Linked DNA regions of Homo sapiens: region 1 is linked to region 2. Evidence: promoter capture Hi-C in 16 types of primary human blood cells and fetal thymus (Javierre and others, 2016). All regions are on one chromosome and are shown on one strand. Each heading gives the region's core, a stretch centred on a gene start or on the middle of the fragment in contact. The rest is flanking DNA. Distances are from core to core; before and after follow the strand shown.

Region 1 (2,700 bases), core at 77-2,576, 92 kb after region 2:
CAATCTCTGCCTCCCAGGTTCAAGCAGTTCTCCTGCCTCAGCCTCCTGAATAGCTGGGATTACAGGCGTGCACCACCATGCCTGGCTAATTTTTGTATTTTTAGCAGAGACGGGGTTTCACCATGTCGGCCAAGCTGGTCTCGAACTCCTGACCTCAGGTGATCCACCCACTCAGCCTCCCAAAGTGCTGGGATTACAGGCGTGAGCCACCGTGCCCACCAACTACTCCCTTTTTAGGCATGGGCTGCACATAGTGACTTCCCACTAAACAGTAAAATAGGGGGAGGGGAAAGAATAACTTTACAGGGAGAAACCCATCAAATACTACCTCAGCCGGGTGATCAAGGTTAACATCAACAGTGATGAGCAATGTTGACAGCATGTGCCCCGGATATGATGTGATGACGGTTTTTGTATTTTCCCGTTCTAAAATTTCCATGGGGCTATTCTTTGTATTTTCTATTACTTCTCTGAGACTTTTAAACTTTCCATTTGAATAGCAGCTTTATAGTCTTGATAATTCCAACATGTGTGGCAACTTACATTCTGCATCTGTTACATTTTTTCCCAACGTGAGTTGAGATTTTCCTGGTTCTTCACCTGCCAATTAATATCGATTGTATCCTGGACATTTTGAATGTCATTAGGATGCTCTGGGTCTTGGTTAAATTTGGTGGAGGATGTTGATATTTATGTTTTAAAGGGTAATTAACCCATTTGGGTTCAAGTCATAAGTTTTGACCAGCCTTCTGAGGGTTGTGGTTCCAATGTCAGTTCAGTTTTCAAAGCCTTTGTAGTACTCTTCTGATAGGTCCCACATGGGTGGCACCTAAAGTGTAACCCAGGGTCCTTGGGTTTTGGGTACGCACTGTGAAAAAGTTACACACTTGTAACTGTTACATCTTGAATTTTTGTTTTAAAAAGTTCCAGGAAGAAGCTTAGCCCAGGAAAAACAAAGACCAGTTGGACCCAGAGATGCCTGAGTTGGAGATGAACTTTGGCCAACTTTCCTCATCACCATACTTAAAATCCTGTCCAAGGAGGAGCTTATTCACCATTTTCTATACATGTGACATATGTAGCAGCATAACCGACAACTGGGACTGCGCTGCCTTGACTCCACCTCTACATACAATGACTCAGCTAACCAGACTAATAAAAGCCATGTTTGCACCATTGCTCAGGGAGGCATTGCTTTGGGGAATTATTCCCAGTGTCCTCCTTACTTATCGCAAGTAATAAAATCCCCCTGGGAAATCCTCCTTGGTTGTGGTCATTGGACTGTCCCCTGCCAAGCAATTTAACCCATTCATTGTGTGGGTAACAAAAGGCCAGTCTGGGACATGAGATCTGGGTCTACAGTTTAGTTCTCAAAGTCTTTGGCATGCAATTTAGGACCAGATTCATCATACCAAAAAAGGGAGATAGTCTCAACAGAATTCTCAAATTACTTAAATATCAGAGGCAGTGTAGAGAAGGAGTACTTGGTGGTATGGTAGGTTTTCTGACAGGAAACAAAAGATGGAGGTAAAATGGAACCAGTACTTTCTTTCTGAGAATACTGACTGCACCAACCATAACATGAAGCGAAGGCTATATCTCCCTGAAGTAAGAAATGTAATAAAGGAAACTTTCAGAAATAATAGATCATCTGGAGATGTTGGGCAGTGTATTTGGTAAGTTATAACTACCAGGTATCAATACAATAAGCTTAGTTTGAATACAATAAGCTTAGTTTCTTTTTAAAGAATTTATCCTGCTCTGTGTTCTCTGAGCTCCTTGGATTGGTTTGGTGTCTTACAAATTTTGGAAATTCTCAGCCATTATTTCTTGATTTTTTTTTTTTTTTTGAGATAGAGTCTTGCTCTGTCGCCCAGGCTGGAGTGCAGTGGTGTGATCTCAGCTCACTGCAAGCTCCGCCTCCCGGGTTCACGCAATTCTCTTACCTCAGCCTCCCGAGTAGCTGGGACGACAGGTGCCTGCTACCATGCCCGGCTAATTTTTTTGAATTTTTAGTAGAGACGGGGTTTCACTGCGTTAGCTAGGATGGTCTCGATCTCCTGACCTCGTGATCTGCCTGCCTCGGCCTCCCCAAGTGCTGGGATTACAGGGGTGAGCCACTGCGCCTATTTCTTGATTTGATGTTGATATTTTCCCACCAGTCTTGGATGCTGTGTTCTGTTTCTGTCACTCTTTTTGTGTGTGTGTGTGTGTGTGTTTCAGCAATTTCTATTTACCTACCTTCAAGTCTGATTTTTTCCTCAACTGTGTTCAGTCTCCTAATGGGCCCATGGAGGGCATTCTTCATCTCTATTATTATATTTTTTATTTTTATAGTTTCCATTTTATTTTTCCTGATAGTTTCCATCTATTTGCTAAAATCACCCATCTGAGCTTGCATTTTGTTCACCTTTCCCCTTAGGGCCTTCATCACATTAATCACAGTTATTTAAAATTCTCTCATATTTCTAATGTCTATGTCTTATGAATCTGGTTCTAATGATTGTTTTATCTCTTTGGACTGTGTTTTTTCTTGCCTTTCTGTATGCGTCTTTTTTTCTTTCTGTTAAAAGTTAGTCATGTTGTATTTTTTTTGCTTAAATTATTTTTTCAATTCTCTCTTCACAGTATGAAGTAAAGATTGTTTTTATGCTTGGAGATGAGTGTGTCTTTCCTTCTGCTAGGCCTTTAGTGCTCTTG
Region 2 (2,700 bases), core at 160-2,659:
TATTTTAAGAGTGGTGAAAACTGCCTGAAATAATAAACAAGAATCTTATATGTTAATTCAGAGAAGATACAAACCTGGATACACATTCTGGGGCAAATCACCATGGTTTCCTATGTAAAACAGCGATTTCTCCACATTTGTTCAGCATATATACTAACAGTGCTTTGCTGATGTGGTTACAATGAATTCTCCACAATTCAATTCAACAAGTATTTATTGACCGCCTCCAATCCGCCTAGCACTGGCCCGTACAATAAATGCTTTCTTTGGTCCCAGGCCATGGAACAGCCACTCTCTATAATGAAAGTATCTTACTGTGTACAGGGGGCACTGCAGGAAAGGGAGGGGAGGGATGGAGGAGTGTCAAGCTAAACTGTAGTTAATTCTTCAATTACATTGACCAAATCATTTCGAAGTCGGAAGGGCCTTTTGAGAAAATCCAGTTAGTTTTTATTGATGACGAAATTAAGACTTGGTGAGTGTCTCGTCTTATCCAAGGTCACTCAGCTAATCAGTCTCCTAGTGACACAGTGCAATTTCCACAAATTCCCTTCACTTCTCACCCCACTCCATGTCAAACAGAGCAACTATCCAGAATTGAAAAATCCACCTAACGTCCCGGACAGCTCTTTTCCAAAGCCTTCAAAGCATTCCATCAAGCTGAAAGAGTGGGGTGTATATAATCTCTACTAGATCCCAATCACCTATTTATCCACTATGACTAGGCTTCAAATACTCTTTAATCACCGCTCAGTGATGAGGGTGGGAGAAGGAAAGGCAGGTCTGGAAACGTATGCGGCACCTCAAAATGTGTCCATCTCTCATCCTTCCGCTCATTTCACCTCGAGGTCCCGAAGGAACCGGGGGGGGAAAAAGACACCTCACCGGAATCAAAGCAAATGGCGACTAAGGGAGAGCAGAAAAATCAAGACCGGGGTCGGTTCGCTCGCGACCCCGTTTGCAGAAACGTCAAAGGGCGATGACGACACTGCGGGAGAGGGGCCCACAGACGGCTTCTCCCCGGGTCTCCGGGCACCCTCAGCCACTGAAACCCTCGCCCCCTCCCCGCCTGATCCTGGGGGTGGGGCGGGGACGTCTCCCAGGAAGAACGGCGCTTTCTACGGCCGGGCCCGGCCAGGAGGCAGGGGCATGGACTCTCTTCGCACAACAGCGGGGCCGCCTGGAGGGGGTCCCAGGGCCGCAGCTGCGGAGCCCACCCTCGCGCACACACCCTTGCGGCCCCGCCCTCCCACCCCAGAGGCCGGCCCCAAGTCTCACCGTGAGCCCCGGGAGCGGCCTGGGGGCGCTGGGCGAGAAAGGGGAGCTGACTCTGGGGCTCAGGCCGGCCGAAGGGCACCGCACACGGACTTAGGCCCTCCCGACGCCTCGACACAGACACAATGAGTCACAAAGGCCGGAAGCGTGTCACCACCTCGTCTTCCGGGACCGCGCCGCGCTTCCGGGTCCTCTCTAGGAGCGCGGGAGGACTTTGCATCTCGGTTTCCGAATCGCTGGACCAGGCGCCTGCCCTTGAGTTTTCAAGCCTCCAGCTTGGAGGATCAGGTCCCAGTCCGCCCCTAGTTAATGCAGGGACTAACGGGAGCAGGTGGTGGGGGGTTTCAGGCTTTCCCCTACTCAAACTCAAACAGACTCTCCAGCTCAGACACCAGTCCATGTGAAAGTTCGATTTCACCTGTCTTTTTCATCTCAGGCAGTCCTTGTAGTAATTATAGTTATTATCAAGCAATATAGTACTTGGTAATTGTATGTCTGTGGCAAAGGAACTGAAACAAGGATGTAGACTGAGGAAGATCAAAGTGAAGCCAAGGGTGGCTGGTTTCCCAAAGCTGCCACGGTAGCTTCTCTCAGGGCCCTGGAGCTATATGGAGTGGTATTTTCAAATACTTGGCCCGTGGACAAGGGATGTCTTTCCACAAGCAAGCATAGTTATAAGGTTCTGTGCTTTGCTCATGTGGCATATGCTATTATAGCCGTTTAAAAGGAGTTTTCAGAGTAACAACAGACACTTTTACCTTCAAAGTGCTTTCACAACCTACCACAGTTACAGCCTTCATCTTTGCCTTGCAGGGTAAGGCACGCATAAGAGGGGGCCACGTTGTGCAAGGGTGGGGGGGACTACAGGCTTTAATGGTTGTGACTTTCCACTATGTTCCGAGACAAGTTCATGGGAGAAACTCAGTAGCTTGGTTGCATGACTCTTACTGCTTGGAGAGATTTACTTTTTTTTTTTAGATGGAGTCTCGCTCTGTCACCCAGCCTGCAGTGCAGTGGCACCATCTTGGCTCACTGCAACCTCCACCTCCCAGGTTCAAGCGATTCTCCTGCCTTAGCCTCCTGAGTACCTGGGACTACAGGCGCACACCACCATGCCTGGTTAATTTTTGTATTTTTGGTAGAGAACAGGGTTTCACCATATTGGCCAGGATGGTCTCGATCTACTGACCTTGTGATCCACCCGCCTCAGCCTCCCAAAGTGCTGGAATTACAGGCGTGAGCCACCGTGCCCGGCCAGATTTACTTTTTAAAAAATGTTTGAAAACTAAAAAGCAATGACAGGGCCAGACACGATGACTCAAGCCTGTAATCTTAGCACTTCGGGAGGCTGGGACGGGAGGATTCTTGAGCCCAAGAGTTGGAGACCAGCCTAAGCAACGTAATGAGACCCTCTCTCTACAAAAA

What was found. The method cuts DNA at HindIII sites, captures the fragments that hold promoters and counts their contacts. A CHiCAGO score of 5 or more calls a contact.
Region 1: a contact is called between a fragment that was not itself captured here and the fragment with the promoter of ZKSCAN1 in region 2, in 1 of 17 cell types (M1 macrophages). The highest score is 5.2, in M1 macrophages.

What each region holds. Positions count from the first base shown.
Region 1 is chr7:99,921,828-99,924,527 of GRCh38, reverse strand. GJC3 (gap junction protein gamma 3) reads left to right here. Exons shown (of 2, transcript NM_181538.3): 2 at 925-1,262. The coding sequence ends at 983. LOC101927610 (a long non-coding RNA gene) reads right to left here. Exons shown (of 2, transcript XR_001745296.3): 2 at 1-2,700. Among named protein-coding and RNA genes, the nearest start is that of TRIM4, 3.6 kb to the right of the region's middle. The HindIII fragment of the contact is 773 bases long and covers 940-1,712 here.
Region 2 is chr7:100,014,305-100,017,004 of GRCh38, reverse strand. ZKSCAN1 (zinc finger with KRAB and SCAN domains 1) reads right to left here and starts at 1,409. Exons shown (of 6, transcript NM_003439.4): 1 at 1,279-1,409. RefSeq lists a silencer at 1,154-1,323. The HindIII fragment of the contact is 19,683 bases long and covers 1-2,700 here.